Linked DNA regions of Homo sapiens: region 1 is linked to region 2. Evidence: promoter capture Hi-C in human tissues and cell types (Jung and others, 2019). All regions are on one chromosome and are shown on one strand. Each heading gives the region's core, a stretch centred on a gene start or on the middle of the fragment in contact. The rest is flanking DNA. Distances are from core to core; before and after follow the strand shown.

What was found. Contacts are between HindIII fragments. The study calls those that stand out against the background at their distance.
Region 1: a fragment that was not itself captured here is called in contact with the fragment with the promoter of TUBB2B in region 2 in 3 of the 25 tissues and cell types used here (H1 embryonic stem cells, mesenchymal stem cells and stomach).

Annotation. Positions count from the first base shown.
Region 1 is chr6:3,170,780-3,177,352 of GRCh38, reverse strand. It overlaps the pseudogene TUBB2BP1. Among named protein-coding and RNA genes, the nearest start is that of TUBB2A, 17 kb to the right of the region's middle. RefSeq lists an enhancer at 1-82. The HindIII fragment of the contact is 5,079 bases long and covers 2,198-6,573 here.
Region 2 is chr6:3,225,781-3,232,601 of GRCh38, reverse strand. It overlaps TUBB2B (tubulin beta 2B class IIb), which reads left to right and starts at 4,949. Exons shown (of 4, transcript NM_178012.5): 1 at 4,949-5,115; 2 at 5,933-6,041; 3 at 6,333-6,443; 4 at 6,791-6,821. The coding sequence starts at 5,059. LOC100422781 (a long non-coding RNA gene) reads right to left here and starts at 1,199. Exons shown (of 2, transcript NR_147505.1): 1 at 440-1,199. RefSeq lists enhancers at 20-802, 2,795-3,351, 4,647-5,305, 5,306-5,966 and a silencer at 4,753-5,042. The HindIII fragment of the contact is 16,967 bases long and covers 1-6,821 here.

The sequences.
Region 1 (6,573 bases), core at 3,488-5,987, 55 kb after region 2:
CACCAGCTGGTGGAAAACACAGATGAAACCTACTGCATTGACAACGAGGCCCTGTATGACATCTGCTTCCGCACCCTGAAGCTGACCACCCCCACCTACGGGACCTCAACCACCTGGTGTCGGCCACCATGAGCGGGGTCACCACCTGCCTGCGCTTCCCGGGCCAGCTGAACGTAGACCTGCGCAAGCTGGCGGTGAACATGGTGCCCTTCCCTCGCCTGCACTTCTTCATGCCCGGCTTCGCGCCCCTGACCAGCTGGGGCAGCCAGCAGTACCGGGCGCTCATGGTGCCCGAGCTCACCCCGCAGGTGACATGCCCTTGCCTAGCATCCATACACTGAGAGGAGTGGGGCGGGGAAAGTGAAATGTTCTTCAGCAGCTGCACAAAGAACCAGGACAGCTTCCTGTGAGTCACCAGTGTGATGAGGCTCTCCAGCGGTGACGTAATCAGACCTGCATCATCCCAGCCTTCAGACAAGAACAACTAAATGAGTGAGAGCATCTCTGGCCTTTGCATTCAGCTCTGAGTCCAGTGCCTCTCTAGATTACAAAGTATTTAAAATCCTGCTTCATGGTGGGTCCAGAGAGGGACTAGAAATGCTTAGCTAGTGAGGAGAGCACTGCTGCAGCATGAAAATGACAGGAATCTGAATGGCAGCTGCAGAAGACAGACGGGTCAGCTAAGGGGACACAGCAGGTCCAATGGCTGAAGGCCACTGTCAGTGGATACAAGGACTTTCCCATCAAAATTCTTTGTAGCAGACACTGTTGGACCCACCCTGTGCCTTTGGCCATTGTTTTTCTCAGACCTGCTGATGGCTTCTTACTGAAAAAAACTGTGACCTGCCCCAGGGGTCACTTGTGCAGCAAGGTAAACCTCTTTCTGGAGGCTAAGTAGCCAGCTCCCCTCCACTCAGGTGGGGCGACGCAGAGTGAAGTTCTGCCTGGTCTCTGACAGATGCCCCTGGGTTGAACCCTTGCCACCTGCAGCAGTGACCTGTTCTGAGGCAGCCCCTTGGCTTCCTTCTCTTTCCTGGCTCTGTTCCCCACAGCACTTCCAACGCTTCCCAGGACAGACACTGCCCTCATCACCTTCCACTCAGATCCTAGCCTCAAGGCGTGCTTTGGGGCACCTGACCTACATCACTCATCAAAGAAGAACTCGTCTACCAGTTTGCTATTTTAACAGGTTACCACAAAGTCAGCAGCTTAACGCACCAGGATCACCTTACAGTTTCCGTTGCTTGGGAGTCCAGCAGGTCTGGGAGGGCTGCACTCATCAGGAGCTCAGGGGCCTCTCCCATGCTTGCTCACGTGCTCAGCAGGGGCCAGGTCCTCACGGTCATAGGCCGAGGTTCCCGTTTTCTTGCTGGCCTTTGAGCAGAGGCTGCTTCCTGCTCCTGGGGGCTGCCTTCTGTTCCCTGCCACATGGCCCTCTCCATAGCAGGCTATCGGATCCTTCAAGGTCATCAGGAGGGGGTCTCTACTGCTTCCAAACTCGAATATCCTGTCTGTCAATGGGTGGAGAAATCTTCTTCTTCAAAAGGGCTCATGTGATTAGGGGAGGCCAATGAGATCATCTCTCTATCTTAAGGTCAACTGACTTGGAAACTTAATTGCACCTGCAAAATCCTGTCACAGCAGTACCTAGATTTATGCTTGATTGAACAACCGGGAAAAGGTGAGTGTTGTAAAACAAAAATAAAATTCTAAGGCCCCCCCAACCATCTGAATGGAACCCTCCTCTCAGCCAAGGTCATTCAAAGTTAACCTGAAAAACTCATTCAGGCAATGATGGGAAGTGGGAGCTGGACATGTCTCTGCATTCCCTCCTCCCGTTTGGAAATGCTGATAGAACAGACTCTTAAAGTCTGATGAGAAACGTTTACAATCTATTCTCTCTGAAGCCTGCTACCTGAAGGCTTCATCTGCATGACAAAACCTTGGTCTCCACAATCCCTTATCATAACCCAGGCATTCTATTGATAACTCTTTCTACATATTGTCAGTCAGAAAACCTTTGAATCTATCTATGACTTGGAAGCCCCCCTCCTTCCAGTTGTCCTACCCTTCCAGACCAAACCAATGTATATCTTATATGTATTGATCGACGCCTTCTGTGTCCCTAAAATGTATAAAAGCAAACTGGACCCTGACCACCTTGGGCCCATGTTCTCAAGACCTCCTGAGGACGGTATCATGGGCCATTAGTCACTCATATTTGGCTCAGAATAAACCTCTTCGAATATTTTACAGAGTTTGACTCATTTTGCCAACAGTATATACCACGAGCCAGGTGAATCTTGGGCCACCTTAGAGTCCTGCCTACCCCAGAGTGGAAACAGCACAGCCTCTGGAACAGATGAACCTGTGTTCCTAAAGTAAGTTATTTTTTTTCCTTCCTAGTTGTATGGCCTTGGGCAAGGATTTTAATCTCTCTGAGCCATACCTTCTTTGTCCAAAAAATGGTGATCATGGTAGCCACTTCAGAAGGCAATTATTATGAGGATTAAATGAAATGCACATGTAAATTACTTGTCACATATGTGTGCAATCACTGGCTCTGTAGGAGCACCTTGTCAAGGGAGGTGTTCAGGGATAGGCTGTATAACTTCCCATCAGGGATTCTGCATAGAGAAGCCATGATAATCTTGGACTATCTTTTAATTTTTTTTTTTTTTTTTTTTTCCGAGACTGAGTCTCGATCTGTCGCCCAGGCTGGAATGCAGTGGCGCGATCTTGGCTCACAGCAAGCTCCGCCTCCCAGGTTCACGCCATTCTCCTGACTCAGCCTCCTGAGTAGCTGGGACTACAGACACCCGCCACCACACCTGGCTAATTTTTTGTATTTTTAGTGGAGATGGGGTTTCACTGTGTTAGCCAGGATGGTCTCGATCTTCTGACCTCATGATCCACCCGCCTCGGCCTTCCAAAGTGCTGGCATTACAGGCATGAGCCACCACACCCAGCTGGAATATCTTTTAATTTTTAAATATACAACCTTTAGGTTCTTTACAACCAGGAAAAGTCTGTGGCTCCACGTAAACATTCTTGAAAGAGCTTTTCATCAGAAAAAGGCCTTCATTGATTGGTATTAAATTATTTCCTTGGGGCTAGGTGCAGTGGCTCACACCTGTAATCCCAGCACTTTGGGAGACTGAGGCAGGAGGATCACTTGAGCCCAGGAGTTCAAAGTTGCAGTAATCCATGATCATGCCACCACACTCCTTCCTGGATAACAGAGCAGGGCACTGTCTCTTAAAAAAAAAAAAAAAAAAAAATTATAAGCTGGGCGCAGTGGCTCACACCTGTAATCCCAGCACTTTGGAAGGCTGAGGTGGGCGGATCATCTGAGGTCAGGAGTTCAAGACCAGCCTGGCCAATATGGTGAAACTCCATCTCTACGAAAAATACAAAATTAGCCAGGCATGGTGGTGCATGCCTGTAATCCCGGCTACTTGGGAGGCTGGGGCAGGAGAATCGCTTGAACCCAGTTTCACTCGCGTCCGTGTGAAGAGACCACCAAACAGGCTTTGTGTGAGCAACAAGGTTGTTTATTTCATCTGGGTGCAGGCGGGCTGAGTCCGAAAAGTGAGTCAGCAAAGGGAGATAGGGGTGGGGCCGTTTTATAGGATTTGGGTAGGTAAAGGAAAATTATAGTCAAAGGGTGTTGTTCTCTGGTGGGCAGGAGTGGGGGTCACAAGGTGCTCAGTGGGGGAGCTTTTGAGCCAGGATGAGCCAGGAGAAGGAATTTCACAAGATAATGTCATGAGTTAAGGCAGGAACAGGCCATTTTCACTTCTTTTGTGGTGGAATGTCATCAGTTAAGGCAGGAACCGGCCATCTGGATGTGTATGTGCAGGTCACAGAATATATGATGGCTTAGCTTGGGCTCAGAGGCCTGACATTCCTGTCTTCTTATATTAATAAGAAAAATAAAATGAAATAGTGGCAAAGTGTTGGGGTGGTGAAAATTTTTGGGGGTGGTATGGAGAGATAATGGGCGATGTTTCTCAGGGCTGGGATTAGGGGTGGCGTGGGAACCTAGCATGGGAGAGATTAAGCTGAAGGAAGATTTTGTGGTAAGGGGTGATATTGTGTGGTTGTTAGAAGAAACATTTGTCGTATAGAATTATTGGTGATGGCCTGGATACGGTTTTATATGAATTGAAAAAAGAACGGAATAAGAAGGAGAAAAACAGGTATTAAAGGACTAAGAATTGGGAGGACCCTGGACATCCAATTAGAGAGTGCCTAAGGAGGTTCAGCATAGTCCTGCCAGCAAAGATTATTTATTTACTTTAACAGGGAGTTAAGAGTGGCAGTTTCGGGATAGCACCAGGAGATATCAGCTGTGATGGCTTGGAGAAACAGTGAAAAAGGGCAGTGTAAACAAGAGCAGAGCATTTATGAGTAGTTGAGAACGGTGAATAGGAGTATGACTAGACAGAAGATAGTAGGGATGACAAGTTTTTTGGGGTGCAGTCCAAGTTGGTCTGGTGTCTGGAATGAGACTGGGGCCTAATAAAAAGGAGCGTCTATACAGGAGCTTAAATGTGCTGTACCCTGTAGCATTCCGAGGACAGGTCTGACTTCTGAGAAGGGAAAGTGGTGAAAGTATTGTCCAGTCCTTTTTAAGTTGGTGGCTGAGCTTGGTGAGTTCTGTTTTTAAAAGACCATTAGTCTGTTCTACCTTTCCTGAAGATTGAGGACGGTGACGGATACGAAGGTTTCACTGAATACTAAGAGCCTGAAAACCTGCTTGGGTGATTTGACTAATAAAGGCTGGTCCGTTATCAGACTGTATAGAGGTGGGAAGGCCAAACCGAGGAATTATGTCTGACAGAAGGGAAGAAATGACCGCGGTGGCCTTCTCAGACCCTGTGGGAAAGGCTTCTACCCATCCAGTGAAAGTGTCTACCCAGACCAAGAGGTATTTTAGTTTTCTGACTCAGGGTATGTGAGTAAAGTCAATTTGCCAGTCCTGGGCAGGGGCAAATCCCCGAGCTTGATGTGTAGGGAAGGGAGGGGGCCTGAACAATCCCTGAGTAGAATAGCAGATAGAACACTGAGAAGTTATTTCCTTGAGGATAGATTTCCATGATGGAAAGGAAACGAGAGGTTCTGAGAGACGGGCTAGCGGCTTGTAACCTACATGGAAGGTTATGAAATGATGACAGAATAGAATGGGCCTGTAAGGCTGGAAGGAGATATTTTCCTTGGCCTAAGAACCATTTGCCTTGTGTGGGAAGAGATTGATATGGTGGAAGTTTCAGCGGGGGAGTAAGTGGGAGTGACCAACGTGTAGGGGGAAAAACTGGCCATGACAGACAGAAGTTGGAATGCTAGCTGCTTGTCTAGCCACCTCATCAGCATAAGCGTTGCCTAGAGCAATAGGATCTATGTGTCTGGAATTGGTGGATTCTTGGTCTCACTGACTTCAAGAATGAAGCCACAGACCCTCGAAGTGAGTGGTACAGCTCTTAAGGTGGTGCATCCAGAGTTTGTTTCTGCTGTTACGGATGTGTTCGTCGTCTCACTAGCTCAGGAGTGAAGCTGCAGACCTTCACAGTGAGTGTTAAGAACTCTTTAAGGCAGCGCATCCAGAGTTGTTTGTTCCTCCCAGGGGGCTCATGGTCTACGCTGGCTTAAGTGAAGCTACAAACCTTCATGGTGTTACAGCTCAATAAAAACAGTGTGGACCCAAAGAGCGAAAAAATAAAGCTTCCACGGCGTGGAAGAGAACTGTCGTGGGTTACCACTGCTGGCTCAGGCAGCCTGCTTTTATTCTCTTATCTGGCCCCACCCACATCCTGCTGATTGGTAGAGCCTAGTGGTCTGTTTTGACAGGGTGCTGATTGGTGCGTTTACAATCCCTGAGCTAGACAAAGGTTCTCCACGTCCCCACCAGATTAACTAGATACAGAGTGTCGACACAAAGGTTCTCCAAGGCCCCACCAGAGTAGCTAGATACAGTGTTGATTGGTGCATTCACAAACCGTGAGCTAGACACAGGGTGCTGATTGGTGTGTTTACAAACCTTGGGCTAGATACAGAGTGCCGATTGGTGTATTTGCAATCCCTGGGCTAGACATAAAGGTTCTCCACGTCCCCACCAGACTCAGGAGCCTAGCTGGCTTCACCCAGTGGATCCTGTACCGGGGCTGCAGGTAGAGCTGCCTGCCAGTCCCACGCCCTGCGCCCGCACTCCTCAGCCCTTGGGTGGTTGATGGGACTGGGTGCTGTGGAGCAGGGGGCGGCGCTCATCGGGGAGGCTGGGGCCGCGCAGGAGCCCATGGAGAGGGTGGGAGGCTCAGGCATGGTGGGCTGCAGGTACAGCCCTGCCCCGCGGGGAGGTAGCTAAGGCCCGGTGAGAAATCGAGCATAGCGCCGGTGGGTTGGCACTGCTGGGGGACCCAGTACACCCTCTGCAGCCGCTGGCCCTGGTGCTAAGCCCCTCATTGCCTGGGGCCGGCAGGGCCGGCTGGCTGCTCCGAGTGCGGGGCCCACCAAGCCCACGCCCACCTGGAACTCTAGCTGGCCCGCAAGCGCCGCCTACAGCCCCGGTTCCCG
Region 2 (6,821 bases), core at 3,700-6,199:
TAATACAGAAACAGAAAACTAAATACTGCATGTTCTCACTTATAAGTGGGAGCTAAATATTGGGTGCACACGGACAAAAAGATGGGAACAATAGACGCTGAGGACTCCAAAAGGAGAGAAGGAAGGAGCAGAGCAAGGGCTGAAAAACTCCCTATTGGGTACTACGTTCACTATCTGGGTAACCAGGTCGATAGAAGCCCGGACGCTCAGCATCATGCAATATACCCTCGTAATAAACCCGCACATGGACTCCCTGAATCTAAAATTAAAATAGAAATTTTAAAAAAGAAGCAGGCTGGGCATGTGAAGCCCAAAGAACTCCGTTTGGAAACTGCACTGCTGTCTCTGCAGTGTGGCCACAGTGACTGCCCGCCCACCAAGCATCTAGAGCCCAGAGGCAGGGGTGTTGCTGCATGGATGTGTCCACCTGGATACGCACGTTTTCATTTCATTTAAATGGCAAACAAAGGTCTTGGGCAGATTTCGAAAAGCACTGGTGAGCTGCGGAGACATTTCCGAGCAGGAGCTGATGTGGAGGGTTTTCAGCGCCGGGTGAGGGTCCCGCAGCCACAGCGATGTTCTAGCCTCCGCCGCGGAACTCACAGAGGTTCCCCCGCCATAGCCTCCCGCGTGCGCTCCTGCGCTTCCACCAGACCTTATTTATAAGTCTGTTGATTTCGCAGGCCGCACCTTGCAAGGGGCACACGGTCCGTCTTATTATTTCATAATCACTTCTTCTCTTTTTGTTTTCCACCCGGCCTGGCTCTGTGTCTAGGACTCAGCGTGCATTCCCTGGGCTCGGCCTGCCCCGCCTGCCTAAGAATCCCACAAATCATTGACAGCGTGGGGGAGGGGAGATTGCCTGTAGCAGGGAAATGGCGCCCTAGAAAAGCCAGGATGCTACTCCCTCCGCCGATTTGTAGGACAAAGCAGGCAAAGCTCTCTCGTGGAAGCTCGGCTCTCTCAGTCCCGACCGAGGCCATTATAACTCAAATTCACAACCTCCGGGGATGCGAAAACACCCGGCCTTACTGAGGAACAAAGGGCAAGTGTTCCCGCACTGCGCTGCGTTCGTGGGCTCGGGGTTTTCGCTGCTGGTTCCAGCTTTTGGTTGCCCTGCTTGGCTGGTCCCTGCGGGGCCCACGGCTGCGGAAGGACAGGGCTCTGAGGCTGCCACCCCGCAGCCCCTGCGACTAAACAGTGCCGGGCAGCTCCGCCGGGGCCGCTGGCTTCCCAGGCGGAGGAGGGAAGGCCTGGGGGGAAGGGGGAGGGCAATGGAATAGAAACTGGGGAGCGACAAAGCTGAGAAGGCGCAGATCTTGGCGGATCCCGGGAGCTTCCTCCACTGTGTCCTTTCCGCAGTCACAGTATGGGGCTGCGACCGCTTCCTAGCCCCCATGCCCCGGGCATTTGGCTCTTTTACATAAATGCTAGGATTGGTAGCTTTCCAATATTTCTAAATGGAGAGCTATGAGAAGAGGTGATGTGTGTGTGTGTGTGTGTGTGTGTGTGTGTGCGTGTGTGTGTGTAAGGAAATAATGATGGATTTGCAGTCTCTTTCTTTCAACTCCTCTTCATTCATTGGCTAAGTGTCGGTTGCCTAGGAAACCGCGTGCATCTCGGCTGCAGAGCCAGCTATGGGGGCTGCGGGCTGGGTTTTTGGGGTTTTAAGCGGTGAATCCTGGCAAGCAGTGAAGAACCCTAATGCTAAATGTCTAGTAATTTCAATAAATGTGTCAAAAATATATGCTACATTATGAAAACAGTGCTTTAAAAATTTACTACTATATAAAGCCTCTTTTCTATCAGACTTCTTCAAACAATGACTGTGTGTGTAATAGAGAAATGCAAATTCACTTGAGGACATGCCGTTGAAAGTAATCTGAAAATTGTGAAAGCAAATATAATTTTAATAGTTTAAGGGATATCTTGCTCACCTCAGTCACGCAATAGATTACGTATAAAACAAATGTTGAATTGTATTTTATGCAGCAATATTTCTACAATTGTCTCTGGAAGGGAAAATTTTTAAATGTTAGTACATCATCAAGACTAACATTAAGAGATCATGAAATATGTTGCCCCGAAATCTTCGTGCCTGATATACGATGACCTAGATTGAGACGCATTGCATATAATGAATAGACAGAAATGCTGGGGACCCAACTGAAAACGACTTTTTTTTTCTTTGAAAGCCGGGTACCAGTCTCTTTATGCGAGCTACATGGATTAAGAATGATTTTTTTGTTTAAGGGTTATCAGATAAACTGAAAGACTTCAGGGAAAGGTGTGGCTGTTGTCAACATTTTAACACAAAATCGGCTCCTTGTGAAAATAAAAATGTGCAGCATCACAATTCCAGTGGGGGTGGGGGTGGGGGTGCGATGTAGACCGGTTAACAAGACTGGCTGCCCGGAAGGGGCAGGGGTGTGGGGACAATTCGAGCAAAATGCTTGAAAGGAAAGCAGATCTTGGGCCAAAAGTGTCCCCAAGGGCACTCTGGGCTTTCAGAAGGATGATTTCCAGCCTCATCCTATCCCAAACCAACCCCTTTAAAAGAAACCTGAGAGGAAAGGGTCTTTTCATCTATCTATATGATCTTGAACACGCGTTTTCACCCGGGCACTGAATGGAGATTTGGCTCGGAAACAGAAGCTGAGAAATGAATTGGTTAGATGAAGGAGGCAGGCGGCCAGCTCAAGTTACTCAGCATGGAGCTGAGCGGCCCCCAACCCCACCCCCCAGCGCTGAGCATCAGGGTTGCTCCTGGGAGCTCGCAGCGAGGGGGTGACCGCTCCGAGTGTGTCTACACTCGCCGCGCGGGTGCCGCCCTAGCTCTGTTCCTTCCGGCGCAGCTTGGTCCCACCAGAGCCGCCACCTCGAGGCTGACACCTGCCACAGCCCTTTTGGCCGAGATGCGGTCACTTTCCCTGAGGTCTGGTGTGCCCAAAAGACGAGATTCCAGTCCGAGCCCTGTCCTCAACTTGCTGTATGACCTTGGGAATTGCTAGCCCTCGACGTTTCGGCATCTGCAGGATCTGGATTAGAAACTCGGAGGTCAGGCCCCGAGACCTTGGTACCGGGAGAGCAGGGCATGTGGACAGACCCTCCGCTGCTCTCTGCCTCTCGGTAGACCCCACCCTCACCCGGGCACGCCGGCCGGGTCTGGAATACCGGCCGGCGAGCTCCAGTCTGGGCGCCCTGGATGTTTGGGGGCGCCTGGGCTTTTGTTCTCGCTACTTCTCTTTGTACATTGGAATCGACTTGAACCCCCCACCCTCCACCCCACAGCGGGAAAGGGAGGCGATGACAGCTTGCTGATAGTTCTGGGAGGGTCTCGCTCAACAGCTGCAGGCTGAGCTCCGCCGCGTGCGCCCGGGTCATTCGGCCTTTCTCGCCAGGGGATGAAAGAGGTCACGTCACCTCGCCAACGGCCCTTCCGAAGTGTGGGGCGGCGCGCTTCAGTCATCGAATTGCAGGGAACAGGTTGTGCAGTGAACGTTTCTGACACCCTTTCCCCTCCCGCCCTCAAACGCACGCAGGATTAGTCTCTCTCTCTCTCTCTTTCTCTCTCTCTCTCACACACACACACACACACGCGCGCGCGAAAAGTAACAAAGAGACCAGTTCCTGCCTCAGTACCTAGAGACTGCGGATCTGAAGGGAGGGTCTGTGCTCCAAGTCTGTGCACGCGCTCGTGCGAGTGCGCGTGGGTCTTGGGTCGTCTCGCGCGCGCTGGGCTGCAGTTTTTAGTCGTATTCCCCACCCTTCAACCGCAGCACGAAGCCTCGGACCTCCAGGTCGCCGCGATGGAAGATAAGAAAGTTTGTTACTCGGGCTTGGGCCACCCTTGGAACCCACCCTCTTACTTGACAATAGATGAACTGAATCCGAGGGCGGGGTGGGGGGGTGGGGCGCCTGTCGTGTGGTTTTAAATACTGGGTTACACAGCGTATCCCACGTTTCTGAGAGCCCTTTGTTCCGCCGACAGCCCCGCCCCCGGGACCCCACCCTCTTTCTGCCCTCCGGACGGTCAGTGCAGCGCCACCGGCCACTCCCACTCCATCACTAGCGAGCAACAAAAGTCAACCCCCGGGGCAGAGGGCTCCTGGGTACCAGCAGGGGCGTTATGCACTCCCGGAGAGGGTCGGGCAGGGCTGAGGGGCTCCGAGGTCGCTTCACCCCTAGATGCTGCGGCGCAGTGAGAGGAGCTACCAGCCCAAGACAGACAAAGGAGAAAGCAGGCCCACGCTGGGGCGGGGGCGGAGGCCGCGCTGGTGTTCATGGGCCGCAGGTGTCCCGGTTGCCATCAAGCACGACTTCCTTCTGGGGCCACCTGTCCTCCCCCAGGCCTCTGTGAGACGGAGCGCCGCCTGGGCAGTCGCTGGCCTCCAGGGTTGAGGAAAAAGACGGTGGTCTCACCAGGGGCAGTTGGCTGGAGGGACTCTGGCCAGTGGCCGAGTAGGAGCCGCAGTCCGAGGTGGCGGAGCAGCCTGTGCCACCTCAGCCCTCCCACCTGCCGGCACTGGAGCACCTGACGGCTTCTCCACATGCTCCAGTCCTCCATCGTTCCCATCCGGTGCCAGCTCTGCCCCCACCCCGGTCAGGACGCGCTGGTGGCCCTCGCCTCGCCGCCCTCTCACCCTCCTTTTCTTCACTGTTCCCCCATATCCCCATACCCAGACCCCCACCACAGCCCCAGACAATGCGCACGCCCCCACCATACTCCCGGTAGCCCCCACCCCTCTCCCGGTCGGCACGCCCGCTCTGATTGGCCGCGGGCCGGTGGTCCAGCCCCCCGGACGGTCCCTAGGGCTCGGAGCATTACGTCAGCCGGGCCTGGAGAGCGCCAGCGCGAAGGGGACTGGGGGGCTCGGGCTGGGGGCGCGGCCTGTGCCGGCCGCCCCACCCTCCTTGCATAAAAGCCGGAGCCCGCGGGGCCGGCGCTCTCAGCCCGTCGGTTCCCGAGCGCCTTCCCGGTGACCCCGCAGTGGGTGTGTGAGGGGAGGACGGACAGACCCAGACGCCGCCGGACCAGGAGGACGCTGACGAGGCACCATGCGTGAGATCGTGCACATCCAGGCGGGCCAGTGCGGCAACCAGATCGGCGCCAAGGTGGGCGCGCCGCAGCGGAGGGGGTCCAATGGGGGCGCGAACCTGGGCCGAGAGCCCCTCGGGGTCCCCAGGCGCGGTCCTGGGAAGGCCTGGGGATCGCCAAATGCAGACCTTCCTGGCCGCTTTGTGCCGCCGAGTGTGGCCTGGGCTAGGAGGTGACTTTCGCGGACGGAGGGGGCACCTCTCTTTCTTTCTGCTGTAACTCATTTGGAGTCCCCGTCACCCCCTCGGCCTCCCTCCGCGCTGGCTGCTTGGCAGGCACGCGTGCCTGGAGAAGACGAGGGTGTGTCCGCGAGGCTGTGCGCGGCGCTCCGCGCGAGGGGCTGGGACACCAGGAGGATTAATTGTACTCGCTTGAACCGGAGTCGAGCTGCCGGGGGAGGGGAGGAGAGCGATTGTCTTGCGGTCTCAGGACGTGCTTTGAATCTAAAACCGCGGTCCTTTAGCTCCTTTGCGTTCCTCTTTCCCCGCCCACCCGCTCCTGGCGGGCTGCAGTCCCTGTGCCCTCGCCTCCTGCCGCAGCCTGGGGCTGCGACCAGTGCGCCAAGCTCCGCCACTGCCCGGCTTTGGCTGGTCCTTACCCCCTCGACCCCTACCTCCCCCCGCGAGCGGCAGCTGTTTGCCTGGGAAACGCCCAGTTTCAACTTTCTGAACCTGCAAAATACAAGCCCCGCGGCTGTGCCCGGGTCACGACGCCCTTTAAAGCTTCAAGCTCCTGAAATGTTGGGTTGTCGGAACTGAGTCGGGGACATTTCATTGTGAGCCTTGGCGTTTCTGGGGGCATCGTTCATGGCTAAATGCAGCCTTTCTGTCTCAGTTTTGGGAGGTCATCAGTGATGAGCATGGGATTGACCCCACTGGCAGTTACCATGGAGACAGTGATTTGCAGCTGGAGAGAATCAATGTTTACTACAATGAAGCCACTGGTAATCACCCTTGCCCCACCCCCACTCCCTTCAGTTTTTCCACCTTCTCCCCTTTCCCTTGCGTGGGACCCCAGGGGTGTGGCCCTGGGAGAGGGTGGACTATTCAGTTTAGGATCCCCGCTCTTTCCCTGCAGTATTTCATTGGGCTTCCTTATGCCAACAGAGCCCTTTGAGAACCTGATGGTGGGTCTCCCTTTGTTTGGGGCAACATCTGCATGATGGCAGCAGGCGCCAAGCCCTTCTCTGCAGAGGTCCTTGCCTGAGGGTCTAAGTCACTGTTGTTCCTTGCAGGTAACAAATATGTTCCTCGGGCCATCCTCGTGGATCTGGAGCCAGGCACGATGGATTCGGTTAGGTCTGGACCATTCGGCCAGATCTTCAGACCAGACAATTTCGTGTTTGGTGAGTGCCTGGTGTGGCTGAGAGCATGAGGGATTCATTTTACGCTGGGCAGTGGAGGCTGAAGAGGTGTGATTGCCAGAGGGAAAGCATGAAGAACATCCGCGGTGTGCCAACTTAGCTTTAATATAGTGTAAAATTGTTTGCCTTTCAGCTGCTAAGAGCTTGGTGTCCTGGCCTTCCTTATTTATAATTATATTCATGAACAAATATTTTAACGTTTGGCCATTTTGGTGATAATCTGAAATAGTCTTATCTGAGCATTGACTCACTGATCTATATTGAGGGGTTTGAGGTAAGGTATTTAGTACAATCACCGGTGACTTAAGATTTCTCTTTCCCTCTGGCAGGCCAGAGTGGAGCCGGGAATAACTGGGCCAA